Regions from separate parts of the Homo sapiens genome. Here region 2 is linked to region 1. The links are contacts of gene promoters, found by promoter capture Hi-C in human tissues and cell types (Jung and others, 2019). All regions are on one chromosome and are shown on one strand. The core of a region is centred on a gene start or on the middle of the fragment in contact, and the rest is flanking DNA. Distances in the headings are between cores, read along the strand shown.

Evidence for each region. The method cuts DNA at HindIII sites, captures the fragments that hold promoters and counts their contacts. A contact is called where the count stands out against the background at its distance.
Region 2: the fragment with the promoter of SHROOM1 here is called in contact with the fragment with the promoter of KIF3A in region 1 in 1 of the 25 tissues and cell types used here (hippocampus).

Annotation. Positions count from the first base shown.
Region 1 is chr5:132,732,195-132,739,460 of GRCh38, forward strand. It overlaps KIF3A (kinesin family member 3A), which reads right to left and starts at 5,352. Exons shown (of 19, transcript NM_001300791.2): 1 at 5,220-5,352; 2 at 2,011-2,284. The coding sequence starts at 5,225. RefSeq lists an enhancer at 4,657-4,756 and a silencer at 4,907-5,216. The HindIII fragment of the contact is 7,994 bases long and covers 3,824-7,266 here.
Region 2 is chr5:132,826,548-132,833,813 of GRCh38, forward strand. SHROOM1 (shroom family member 1) reads right to left here and starts at 4,100. Exons shown (of 10, transcript NM_001172700.2): 1 at 4,047-4,100; 2 at 914-1,060; 3 at 1-40. RefSeq lists silencers at 3,469-3,778, 3,989-4,408. The HindIII fragment of the contact is 17,651 bases long and covers 1-7,266 here.

The DNA.
Region 1 (7,266 bases), core at 4,102-6,601:
CAGAAACCTCACACATTGCTGATGGGAATATAAAATGGTGTAGCTACTGTAGAAAAGTTTGGCAGCTCCTCAAAACATTAAACAAAGTTACCATGTGACCTAGTAATTCCACTCTTAGGTATATACCCAAGAGAAACTAAACATATGTTCACACAAAAATCTGTAAAAGAATGTTCAAAGTAACATTATCTGTAATAGCTAAAAAGTAGAAACAACAAATGTTCACCAACTAATAAATGGATAAACAAAATATGATATATCTATACAATATTATTCAGACATAAAAAATAATGAATTGCTGGCCTAGTGCAATGGCTCACGCCTGTAATCTCAGCACTTTGGGAGGCCGAGGCGGGTGGATCACAAGATCAGGAGTTCAAAACCAGCCTGGCCAATATGGTGAAACCCCGTCTCTACTAAAAATACAAAAATCAGCCAGGTGCAGTGGCTCACGCCTGTAATCCCAGCACTTTCAGAGGCTGAGACAGGCGGATCACAAGGTCAGGAGATCAAGACCATCCTGGCTAACACGGTGAAACCCCGTCTCTACTAAAAACACAAAAAATTAGCTGGGTGTGTTGGCGGGCGCCTGTAGTCCCAGCTACTCAGGAGGCTGAGGCAGGAGAATCGCTTGAACCCAGGAGGCAGAAGTTGCAGTGAGCCAAGATCACGCCACTGCAATCCAGCCTGGGCGACAGAGCAAGACTCCGTCTCCAAAAAAAAAAAAAAAGTAATGAATTGCTGATATATGTTTATATGTTACAATAGGGATGAAGCTTGAAAACACTGTAAGTGAAAGAAGTTATTCACAAAAGGCCACATAGCATATAATTCCATTTATAGAAAATGTCCAGAATAGGCAAACTCATAGAATAGATATAGACAGTAAATTAGTAGTTGCTGGGTTGGGGGAAGGGAGGTGGTAATGGATTGGGAGTGACTGACTGCTAATGGATACAGGGTTTCTTTTTGGAGTGATAGAAATGTTCTGGAAACAGACAGCGGTGACAGCTGTACGACATTGTAAATGTACCTATGAACTATAAAGTGTAAAATGGTTAAAATCATAAATTTGATATTTGAATTTTATCACAAAAGCTACCTAAAGAAATCAATTTCATCTCTATATATTAGTAACACACAATCCAAAATTGAAATTATGAAAGCAATCCTATTCACAATAGCATCAAAAAAATACTTAGGAATAAATTAATCAAAACAAGTGCAATACTTGTACACTAAAAGCTACAAAATACAGATGAGAGAAATTAAGATATAAATAAATGGAGAGAAGCTGGACATGGTAGCTGACATGGGAAATCCCAGGGCTTTGAAAGGCCTCAGTAGGAGATTGCTTGAGCCTAGGAGTTCAAGACCTGACTGAGCAACACAGCAAGACCCAGTCTTTACAAAAACAAAAAAATGAGCCAGGTGTGGTGGCGCACAGCTGTAGTTCTCATTACTCAGGAGGCAGAAGTGAGAGGATAGCTTCAGCCCAGGTTCAAGGCTGCAGTAAGCTATGACTGCACCACTGCACTCCAGCCTGGGCAACAGAGCAAGACCCTGTCCATAATTCATTAATGTTTCAACGTTTTAAATGAAGAGAAGTATCATGTTCATGGACTGAAGACTCAATATTGTCAGAATGACAATTCAACACAATCCCTATGAAAATCCTAGCAGGATAAACTTCAAAAACATTATTTGATGTGAAAGAAAACAGATAAAAAAGGTGACATATTATATGACATCATTTATATGACATTTCAAGAAAAGGCAAAATTATAGTGACAGAAAGCAGATCAATAGTTGCTTGGGGGTGGGTCTGCAAATGGGCATAAAGGAAATTTTGAGGATGACAAGGGTGTTCTAAAGCTGGATTGTGATGATGGTTTCACAACTGTATATATTTACTACACTCATCAAACTGCACAGCTGCAATATGTGAATTTATGGCACAGTAATTATGTCTCAATAAGGGAGTTTTTTAAAAAGTAAAGATTCACTTACCATTGTAGCCTTCAAGTACAGAATCAATAATAGGTCTTGCAGTTAAGTTATAAACATCAAGTTGTTTACTCTCTGGTCCAAAAACAGTATCAAAAGTAAATGTCTTTGGAGGTTCATTGGAAGAATCAGTCTTATGTACAGTGATAGTTCCCCTCATCTCATCCACACTGACAGCCTGTTTGTAGCACATTGATTTCTCTCTCTCATTGAGGGGCCGGCACCTAACAACAACCTTCACATTATCGCAGCTTTCTGGCTTCTCTGATTTATTGATCTGTTGGAGATAATATTTACAAATAATGAAAAGAACATTAATTTTTACCCTCATCAGATTAAATTTATAAACTTTAAAAGGCTACTTTTCCAACTCAGTGCCTTGCACACATTAAACACTTCACAGGTATTTGTTAAATGCAATTAAAGATCTTACATATAGCTGAAAAGTTTATTAAAAGATACAAAAAGGAAAATCGTTTCTTTTAAAATGTAAAAGGGAGAGAAGAGCTAGTTCACATTTGTGGCAAAGGCTGTACAAGCAGAAACTGAACCAGTATATTATAGATCATCTTTTTGCACAAAAGTCTCTGACCCAGCGTTTCCTGCCTGTAGGAAAACACATGTGAACATGGTTAACAACTTTAACTCAAGAAAATAGTAGGTCCTTTGTTTCCCCTGAGACTTTAGTTTTATTTCCTATCACGCATCTGTAAAATGGTTTTTATCATGTAATATATCCATATATGGCTTATCTTCTCTACAGAAAACAATAATAAGATAAAGACAGAAATGAAAGTCTAATGGCAAAGAAAAATGCCTTAGTATTACCTAACCTTATAAGCATTTGTATATGTAAAGTTTCCATTTCTGAATTTTTTTTTTCTTATTTATGAGGCACAGTCTCACCCTGTCACCCAGGCTGGAGTGCAGTGGCGTGATCTCAGCTCACTGCAACCTCTGCCTCCCAGGCTCAAGCGATTCTGCTGCCTCAGCCTCCCCAGCAGCTAGGATTACAGGCGTCCATCACCATGCCCAGCTAATTTTTGTATTTTTAGTAGAGACGGAATTTCATCATGTTGGCCAGGCTGGTCTCGAACTCCTGACCGCAAGTGATCCACCCACCTCGGCCTCCCAAAGTGCTGAGATTACAGGCATGTGCCACCGCACCCCGTCATTTCTGAAATTTTATGATTAAGAAAATATAATGAAACACAATCCTATTATTGAAGTGAAAAGGACAGTTTAGTTGAACAGATACTTGTTAAATTCCTACTGTTTCAGATTCTCTTCTAAGCATTGAAGAGAAACAAATATGAGTCATTGTCATTGACTCTGACATTGTCACTGACAAGTAACAGATTATATCAGTACAATACACTTCTATCTATCTCTCATCCTATTCCTCTCATCTATTCATCACCCTAGTCTAAATCACCATCATCTTGGCCCTGGATTACTGCCTCCTAACTATACTCCTGAATCTAATCAGATTGCCCTACTGCCTATTCTCCAAATAGCAGTCAGTGTCAACACACATCTAATCATGTCACTCTCCTACTTAAAAATTCTTCAGTGGTTTCCCATAGATCTCAGAACAAAAACCAGAATCCTTAAGGTGGTCTGTAAGGTCTGGCTTCCACCCACGTCTGCTTCACTGGGCTTATTTCACAAGATATTCTGCCTGGCTCATCCATGCCACAGCCACACTGAGCTGCTTGGCCTTTTCTTGTCACCATGCTCCTCACCACTGGCCTTTCCATGTGCTGTTCCTTCTACCTAGAACCATCTTCAATCCCCTCTTCACTTAGTTAACATCTACTTATCCTTCAGAACTCAACAGCCACTTCACCTGGGAAGACTTCCTGACTAGGTCAAATACTCTTATAGGCTCAGAGAGCACCCTGCTCTCCCCTTCCTGGACACAAATTTTACTTTTGCTTGTTCCTTATTTGATTAATGTCTTTCTGTCTACACCAGAGGTTGCAAACAGGTAGTCAAGAGGCTGAATTCAGCCCACAAATTTCTTTTGTTTGGTTCATAGTATTTAAAGAGCTTTTGAATTAGTTGCTAAAATTGAGAAATTTCACAAAAATAATTTCTAAAGTCTCTTCTTGGGAGGAAAAAAAATGACCTGTTATCATCTGCAGACCATCATTCTTACATGGCAATACATTCCAATTCACCAGAATCTACTTCTCTCTATTGTAGGATACCCACCCACTTCATTATTAAGGTTTTGTGTCTTACGTCTGTAAATATGTATGATTTTCACCTCTGCCCAAGAAGGCAAGCCTCTCTCTTTCCAAGTTCAAGAACCTGACTGGTGTTGCTCAATGTTGTATCTTCAGGGCCTAGCATGTGGTTGGTGCCCAATATTTACTGAATTAAAACTTGAAAGCAGTGAACAGAACAAATATAGAGCATTTAATCTTAAATGTCAAGCACTGTCCTTCTAGTCTCCTGTGTATTATTTCACGCGGATAACAACCCCATGAGGTAAAGTTTACATGGGAACTAAGGACCCAGACAGATTAAATAATTATCCGAGGCCTCACAACCACTAAATAAGCGGCCATGGCTCAATTTTCCTCCATGACCCCTAATAAGGGGTCTTAGAAGGCCCCATTATTAAGTTCACGATAACAATCTGTGAAATCCTGGAAGATAAACATAACACCGCCACACACACAAAGACACCTACGGGTTTCATTCTGCATCATAAGCTAAAGCGCCACAAGAGCAATGACAGCTCAAGGCTAGGAGACTCGGAGTATGGGGCCTGGAATAGGGGCAGGCAGCCTTCGCTCCGCTGCCTCCCTGCGCTTGCTCCGAGGCGCAAAGGCCTCACCAGGTGTGCAGCATCCAAAGAGCCCCACCGTGGCCACCCCCAGACGCCCCGCTCAGCAGGAAGGGCTGCGAGCCAGAGCGCATCCTCCAGCACAGCGCCTTTTTGATAAGCGGCGCAGGCCCCACGGGATGCAGCAGCGACGAGGGCGGCAGGGCCTGACCCCAGGTCCCTGTCGAGGCCGGCCGGACCCCCGCGGCCCCGGGGCTGACCAGCCAGGCTCTCCAACCACCTCCACCGCACGACCGAGCCTGCCCCGCCCCACCCAGGCCGCCTGCCGGCTCCGCGCCTCCATGGCAACGGCCGCGCCCCCGGGCCAGGCCGCTAGGATGAGAAGAAACCCCAGAAGCGAAGCGACTCTCCTCACCGGCATCTTGGCCCCCTCCCGTGCCCGGCGGACGTCCCCGCCCGGGGTGCAGCCCAGCGACACCGGGTGCGCAGAAAGGATGGCCAGAGACTACCGAAACACCTCGTTGACGCTCTCGAGACTGCGGCTTCTCGGGCGAGAGCGCCCAGTGCGCAGCCGCATTCCGAGCTCGCCCCGCCCCAAGCCCAGTCTCAGGCTCTCTCGGCCCTTGAATTACGCCTGCGCGGAGGCTTTCCGAGTCCATCTCCTAGGACGCCAGACTGAGGCCGCGCGTGCGCAATGCTGCCATTCTGCTGCGCTAGAAATGTGGCACGCACTGAGGCGGAGGTAACCTGGCAGCCCGGGGTTGGGAGGAGGAGCTGCTCTTAGGCCCGTCTTCTGGCCCTTGCAATACCCGGAATATTAAAATCAGTAATAGCAATTGTACATTTTGTCTCATCCGAAGAATTGAAGACCTTACCTACCTGACCTCGCTTGATTGCTAACTTCCTCATGACCTGTCTTACCATTAGAAAGTGAGCTCTCTTAAGGAGATTGTTAGTATTCTCACATCTATCTCCAGAGCCCACACAGAGCCTGGCACAGAGTGGGATTTTTATACGTGTTGGTCAAAGAACCAGTGATCCGTCCATCCTCTTTCTAGTCCACTTGAATGTGTAATGGGCATTTCAAGTTAATCATGTCCAGAATTGAAATCTTGATCCCCCATCAATCGCCCCACTACCCACTCCACCCCCATCAAAAAATTTAAAAGGGCTCTCTCTCATCCCTCTCAGACTTTCTTCATCTCAATATGTGGGAGCTTAATTCCGACAACTGCTCAGGTCAAAATTGCAGTCTCTTTCATACACAATATTCTATCTTTAAATACAGCCTGTTGTATCTATCTTTGTAGTGGAACCAGAATTTGGCCACTTCTACCACCACCATCGTCTCTCACGTGCATTACTACAATCGCTCAGAACTGGTTTCCTTGATTGTGTGTCCTTGTCCCTTTTCAGTGTGCTGGACAGGAGCCAGAGTGCTGGTGCTAAAACATGAATCAGATCTTCTCTTTTCTCTGCTCAAAACCCTCCATTGATTTCCCATCTTACAAAGCTAAAGCCACAAGCCCTACAATCCTCCCTCTTGCTTCTTCTGCACCAGCCCCACCTGGCCTCCTTGCTTCATCCAACATTCCCGTCGTGCTTCCATCTTAGCATGCAAGGGCTGTGAGCTTGCAGTAGGAACTGATAGAAATAAAGATAAAGCATTTTACATAGTGCCAGTGTACTGTTCTACATGCTTTCGTTTTTTAATTCATTTAATCCACACAATAACCTTTTGAAATAGATACTATTTATTATTATTTTACAGATAAAGTAATTGAGGCACAGGACCATTAAATAACTTTTCCAAGGTCATACATATAAACAATGGCAGAGCCCAGGTCCAAACCCAGGCAGCCTAGACAGCTCTTTCCCTAAAAAACCACCTGACCACTCACCTCCTCCAGAAAGTCTTTGTTCACATAACCCCAGTGAACCCTAACATGATTTCCTTATTTAAAATTTCAACCTTCAGCCCAAACTCTTCTTTTTTTCCCTCCCCACTTTATATTTCTCCATAGTACCTATCACCATTCAATATTTTATATATACACACATACAAGCTTTACTGAGATATAATTTACACACCATACCATACAATCACCGATTTAAATTGTACAAGTCAATAGTTCTTACTATATATGGAGTTGTGCAACCATAACCTAGAACATTTTTATCATTCCAAAAAGACATTCTGTACTCATAAGCCACTCCCCCTTGCTCTCTGCAACCCTCCTCCCACCCCACTCCCAACATCCCAGACCTAGACAACCCACCAATCTACTTTCTATCTCTGTGGATTTGCCTATTCTGGACATTTCATATAAATGAAATTACACAATATGCAGCCTTTTGTGAGTAACTTCTTTCACTTACAAAGTTTTCAAGCTGTATCCCTATTATAGCATATATCAGCAATTTGTTACTTTTTATGGCTGAATAATATTCCATTGCATGGC
Region 2 (7,266 bases), core at 2,850-5,349, 93 kb after region 1:
CTTCCTGGCCGTTCTGTTGGCTTCTCCATGTGATCTTTCCCTGATAAACAATGGTCAAGAACACTCTTGTGACCTCAGGGGAGCTAAGAAAGGAGGGGTGGGGGAAGACCCAGGGCAAGGGGCAGAGGCAGCTTCACAGCCTTCCTCCCTCCCTCTGTGCCTGTTATGTTCCAGGTGCTTTATATAAATATTTATTTTGATCGTTGCAACTGCTGTCTGCATTTTACAGACAAGGACAATGAGGTTCTGAGAGGGAAATGATTTGTCCAGGGCCACACAGCTGGGACGTGGCAGAAGCCTGCCTGGAATCCAGGCCTGCCTCCACGCTCACTGCAGCCAGAATCAATTTCCTAGAAGCAAGCCCTGCTGAAAGGCAGTTTACCATCCCTCCTGTTCCCCAACAGCCTGAATCCTCCAAGGAAGCCCACACTCCACTATGGGAAAGTCACCCCTACCTCCCCATACACTATTGGCAGATTCCAAAATAATCTGGCCCCCACTTCTCAAACTCTGCCTTTCGTCTAGGAATGATGGGCCGACCCCCATCTTTGCCCTGCTTCTATTCTTGCTTCTCCTGTAGGACTCAGCTTAGAGGTCTCCTCACTTTTTGGGACTCCTACAGTGTGCTGAGCTGACCCCCACCCCACACTGTCCCTGTTGGCTTGCTTCTGATTCCCTCCTCCCATTCCCACCCCTGAGCTTCCTGAGAATGGGCCCTGCTCTTCCTCATTGCTGCACTCTCAGTGCCCAGCAGAGTCCCTGGCATACAGTCAATGTTAAATATTTGGGCCGGGTGCAGTGGCTCACGCCTGTAATCCCAGCACTTTGGGAGGCCGAGGTGGGCGGATCACTAGGTAAAGAGATCAAGAGCATCCTGGCCAACATCGTGAAACCCCATCTCTACTAAAAATACCAAAAATTAGCTGGGCGTGGTGGCACACGCCTGTAGTCCCAGCTACTCGGGAGGCTGAGGCAGAAGAATCGCTTGAACCCGGGAGGCGGAAGTTGTAGTGAGCCGAGATCGCGCCACTGCACTCCAGCCTGGCGACAAAGTGAGGCTCTGTCTCAAAACAAAACAAAACAAAACAAAACAAAACAAAACCCCAAATATTTGCTGAATGTCAAGGGAAATAACAGATTTGCAGGGAGTAGATGTAGGGGTGGCCTTGGTAGAGAAGGAAGAGAGTTCCTTAGCTTCTGCGCACGCTTCTTCCCTCCCTATTAGTCTTTTCTGGGGAAGAGGACAGAATGGGTGAAGCACTTGCCACCATAGACACTGGCCAGGTTCCTCATGCAATATTAGGTACGAACAGAGCAGGCAAGCACAGCTTGGGGCAGGACTCACCAGAAATCAATCCCTTCTGGTCCTGGGAGGGGGATCAAGGGTAAGAGTTGAGTGGGTGTGCCTGGGTCAGGGTAAGAGAAATTTTGAGGCTTGGGAAAGGGCAGTGTTGAGGTTTGGGGCTCCCTATGAACTATGGAGACTTTTGGGCGCTGGCCTCCATTCTCTGAGCTGCTTGGTAGGGAGTGCAGAGTAGGGTGGCCCACGGCTAGGGTGAGGACCAAAAAGCAGGCTTATTTGAGCCTCCTAGACACTATCTGGAGCTCAGAGTCACCCTCCACCCACGTCCCTGAGGCCCAGGATGTTACAGATTGCTGGTTAGGGCAAGGATGGGGGTTAGTGGTAGGAGGATATGGTGTTTCCTAAAAGGGAAAGGCAGTACCTACAACATTCCCAGGAGAGGCTCTCAGCAGACCTAGGACCAGAACATCTTGATGTCACCCACCTGGGGGCATTTGTATATGCCTACTAAGCCCAGGAGCTTAGCCCTCACACTTAGGGTTGGGGACCTCTTTTGCAAAGTATTTCCACTCTAAACTTTAGGAGGACAAGAAACTACTCTGAGTAGCAGCTCCTGGGAGGACAGTCCCCTCATCTAGGAAGCCCACCCGACTGCTCAGACATTAGCCCTTTCTCTTCCTACTCTTTCTGAGTCCAGCTTGGGAGCACTAGCTCATGTCACCCATCCTGCCCATTTTGGCTTGCTGCAGCTACAGATGGGGATCACCAAACACAAGATGTTTCCTCAAAAGAGGTCTTGAAAATCTATGAAAATCTATCTTATTTGTGAGTTACTATGTTAAAGGATTCTGAATTCAGCAAATAAAAACAGCTTGAATGGGCAATAAAAATGTGTCTACACATGTGTTTCCTTATTGACTGTAACTTGTTGAAGATGCTTTTGCACTGGTGGCCCTATCAGGTTGATGTTCACGCAGGCTCCTCACAGTGGGTGCTTTGCAGAACCTACCATGCCAAGAGGGCCCAGCTGCTTTGGTGTGTTTTGGGGGGCCTCAGCACAAAACAACAAGGCATTTTCATACTTGTCTGGCTGCAGGGAGCCTCTTGCAGTCCAGCCAGCCCCTGTGGCTGGGGGTAGCCCTACCTTAGGGGTCCCTGCCTCAGTGGCAGTGGTACCTGTGGGCTGGGCTGTTATGCCTGTGCCGGCTGCTGAAAGGGAGTTCAGAGGTGGAGCTCAAGGAGCTCTGCAGGCATTTTGCCAAGCCTCTCCAGAGCAGAGGGAGCAACCTAGACTCCCCGCTAGAAAGACACCAGATTGGAGTCCTGGGAGGGGGAGTTGGGGTGGGCATTTGATGTATACTTGTCACCTGAATGAAGGAGCCAGAGAGGAAGGAGACGAAGATGAGATTGGCCTTCAAAGCTAGGGGTCTGGCAGGTGGAGGCACCAGTCTGAAAGGAGGAGCTGGGGCTGAGGAATTGTCAAGGGGGCCAGTGCTCCTTCAGTCTGGGCTTCATGGTGTCTGTGACAAGTCAGGCAGCAGTTGGGATGTGGCTCTGGAGTTCAGCAGGGGAGGGTAGACCAGGCAAGACCCAGGTTTTTAGTTAGAGGTTACTGGGGAAATAGCTGAAGACAGTTTCCGGTGGATAAAATCACACCAAGGCAATGGGAACAGATCCAAGTAAGGCGACCGAGGAGGCACAGGAGAACGGACAGCCTCAAATACAACGAATGATCAGGATTTACATCATACCTCCCTCAAGGCCACCTCACATCTGACCTCTCTGTGGAGGGGCTATCCAGGCCGCCCCTCCCAGCGGGTCTTCCCTCAGTACTGGGCTCACTGTGTAGGCGCTGTCTCCCTGTCAGACTGAGTTCCTGGGTACTGGACCACGTCTCAAAACCCAGTACCCGCAGCTGGGTCTGGCTAGGCGGACGTTCTGGGAAGTTCACCGGCTCTCCCTGTCCCCAGCGTCCCCCGTTCTCCCAGCCTGTCCGCGCTGACAGCGCACCCCACGCAGCATCCACGCTCCGAGTGTGCGACTGGTTTACGGGCTCATCGGTCGCTGCACCCCAGATGCAGAGTCTCTGGAGACCCGAGCTCCGTGCCATGCACAGGAAATGCAGGAAGCTGGCGACACCCGGGGAGAGGCGGCCGCGGGCGTGGACAGACCCGGTTACCTGGGGTTCAATCTCTGGGAGCCGAGGCACGGGAGGGAGAGAGGCGCAGGCCCCGGCGGCCGCAGGGGGCGGCAGAGACACGCGGAGCGGCTCGACAGCAGATGGCCGCAGCCCCGCGCAGTTCTGGGCCTTTCCCGTTGGGTTCACCGTCGGGGAAGGATCGCGCGCAGGGGACAGCGCGAGCCCGGGAGGGAAGGACCCGGCTTCTCCAGATGCTTGGCGACAAAGGGCAGGAGCGGAGGGTGGCGGAGTGAGACCGCGCTGCCCGCCGGCGCCACACGCGGCGCGCCCAGCCGCGCCCCTGAGCCGCGCCGCCAGCTTAGAGTGGGCCGCCTCTCCGCCCTGCAGCTCTGCAGCTGGGAGAGGCGCGCTGGGGTCCGACTCCACTGGCGCAACCTGACGCGGCGCCGAGCCAGACACGTCCCGGCCGAACGATGCCCGGGCTGCCCCGCGACCACCGCCTCGCCGCCCGCTCTTCACCCCCGTCCGCCCGCAGCCCCGCCGGCCTCCCGGGGGAAGCGGACCCAGCCGCCCGCTTCCCGCTCCCCCGCCCCCGCCGCGTACCTGAGGCTCCCGCCGAGACGCGCTCCTGGGCCGTCGCAGCCGCGCGGTGACATCAGAGCCCCGGGCTCTGACTCCGACCCCACCTCCAGGCTCCGGCCGCGGCCTCAGGGGAGGCGCCACGTCCGGCCGCGGGGGCGGGAGCCGCAGCCTCTTGGTAGCGTCCGCGCGCCGGCCCAGTCCCAGGTCTGAGGGTGGACAGTGCGTTCCCGCGCGGGCCACAGGCCTCTTGCCCCAGGCCGGAGAAACCTGAGCGAGGTGGTGGGAGGGCGACTACGGCGACCGCCCACCGGCCTCCAGCGCGTCCGTGATGCTCGGGGGCCGGGTCCCTCGGGGCCTGACACCTCCCTCGGTGGGGAGGTCCAGGGCGGGCCCTTAGGCGCCTGACGGCTACCCGCTTTCCCCCCCAAGCCCGGCCAAGAAAACAGAGCTGCCAGGGCCTCGTGCCTCCCACCTGTCCCGCTGAGTAACTCGGCCCTTGATCAACTCTACCCCCAGACCCCCATTTCCAAAACTCTTCCAGCTCTTTGACTCCCACCATGGGCTCTTGTCTCCTGTTCCCTGTCCCATTTCTTTCCATTTCTCCCACTACCCAGCATGGTCTGGGCCCTCCAGCCTGCTACCGGGGTGGGGGAGAGGGGGGCGGAGCACGGGGAAGCCCCTGGACTTGTGTGCACCTTAGCTGTCCTGAGTGTGTCCTTAGGGAGCTGGACATATGCATACCCACTAAGGCTGGACACTGGCGCTCGAGGCCCTCACCTTCCAGGATCTCCATTTTCCAAAGAACGCTCTGCCTGCACCTGCCACTGAGCTCTCCTTGCTGTGTCCTCAGGCTCCCCTGCCCCGACTTCCCAAACTCTGTCCTATGAATACCACTCTGCCAAGAAATGCTCCGTTCCTGAGAGGGGCTGGGGACCCTTTGATGAGCCTCTCCGGCTCTCAGGTCTCTGCCTTTGTCCTCCGCTGCCCTCCCGCTCCCACAGGATCAACAGGGCTGGGCTCAGGGGCTGTGTCCTCCCATGGTAGTATCCCTGGCAAATAAAGGTTTATTGGTGTTAATAACCAGGACTCTGAACTCTGGCCAAGAGTCAAGGTTGCCACTTCCTAGGGACACTGGGAGCCTGAGGAACTCTGTCTTCTTGGGTCTTCTTGGGTTCGGAGGCAGGAGACACCTGAGCCCGACTTCTGAGAGTGGTGCCCGCTGGGCCCTGCTCCTTCTTCAACACCATCTGGACTCAGGCACCAGCTTCAGCTGGAGCGCTAGGCTTTAAGACAGTGCCTAAGAACCTTTCGGCTTTGAAAGACTTTTGTTGTTTGTTTTGCTTTTTTGAGACAGAGTCTCCCTCTGTCGCCCAGGCTGGAGTGCAGTGGCCGGATCTCTGCTCACTGAAACCTGCGCCTCCCAGGTTCAAGCAATTTTCCCTGCCTCAGCCTCCCAAGTAGCTGGGATTACAGGCACCGGGCACCACGCCCAGCTAATTTTTGTATTTTTAGTAAAGACGGGGTTCGCCATGTTGGCCAGGCTGGTCTCAAACTCGTGACCTCAGGTGATCCACCCACCTTGGCCTCCCAAAGTGCTGGATTACAGGCATGAGCTACCGCACCCGGCCTGAAAGACTTTTAATATTTTTAAGACCCTGATCCACAGAGTCTCACAGCAGCATCAAAATAGAAGAAAGACAGCCCAGCAAACAACAACAAAAAATTTTTAATTGCTCATGTTGGCTGGGGCGGTGGCTCATGCCTGTAATCCCAGCACTTTGGGAGGCCAAGGTGGGCAGATTGCTTGAGCTCAGGAGTTCGAGACCAGCCTCGGCAACATGGCGAAGCCCTGTCTCTACAAAAATACAAAAAAAAATAGCTGGACGTGGTGGCACGCACCTGTAGTCCCAGCTACTTGGAAGGCCTAGGCACAAGAATCGCTTGAACCGAGGAGGCATAGGCTGCAGTCTGCCGAGATCACGCTACTTCATTCCAGCCTGGGCAACAGAGTGAGATTCTGTCTCAAAAAAAAAAAAAATGGTTATGTTTTTTACTTATATTTCTTGAAAACTATGGGGACACAGTGTCCAGAACAATTCTATTAACCCACTCCACCCACCTACCACTCACCTCTTGCACACACTACAGCACCTCTCTGCTAGGGACCATGAGGACGCAGTCCAGAGCGATTCTTATTAACCCACTCCACCCACCTACCACTCACCTCTTGCACACACTAAGCAACTCTCTGCTAGGGACCATGAGGATGCAGTCCAGAGCGATTCTTATTAACCCACTCCACCCACCTACCGCTCACCTCTTGCACACACTAAGCAACTCTCTGCCTAAGTCCCCAGAAAACTGAAATCCCACCTACCCACGTCTCTCTTAACCTCTTCTGTTCTGAGAAAGAGAAAAGTAACCCCTAACATCTGAAAGGCCCAGCTGGACCTTGGTGTTGCCAGAATTTGACCTGACATTCACAGCAAGGCCTTACTGTTGTCCCATTGGACATAAGCCATTTCACAGGGCATCAATGTGAGACAGGGCCGTTCTTTAACAATGATGGATCAAGACAAAAACAACAGCACTCTAATCATGTCTAACACATACAAAAGCATGAACATTGTCCAAGTCACAAAAATGACCTAGCTAATGAGTGCCTGCTGTCCTAGCTAATGTGAGTACCTGCTGCTTCTTTACCAATTGCAGCTTTAGCCTCACTCTAATCATTCCTCTTTCTAGATAAGATTTATTAATATACCCAATCATAGAATTACTCTTGCTTCTTGACAGCATCCAGCACAAAGGAAAGTTCTGCTTCTTTAACCCTCTTGAAAAGCACTAACCCAAACCCAGATCCTCTAAGTCCTTTCCAATGCTCTCTTCCTGAGATGCCACGTGGTTTCCCATGCTACGTGTCCTCTCTCACTTCAACAAGCAATGAACCCAACTTGTTCAACTACAGGTGTGCTCGTGGTGGTCTTTGGCTAGGGGGCACTGATACTTCCTATCTCATTATTACAAAAGCACAGAGAATCTTGGAGAAGAGAAGGGGGAAGAAACTGCCACAAAGCTGGAGTCTCCCTTAGTGATGGTGGTTGGGGGGTGAGTGTGCATGGAGAGGGTGGAAACATGCACATATGCTTCCAATACATAAAGAGAGGTGTCTGCACCCTTCAGTATCTCAATACTTTCTCAGGCCTGGGGGAGTTCTTTTGAAGAGACCCTTAGATGGCTG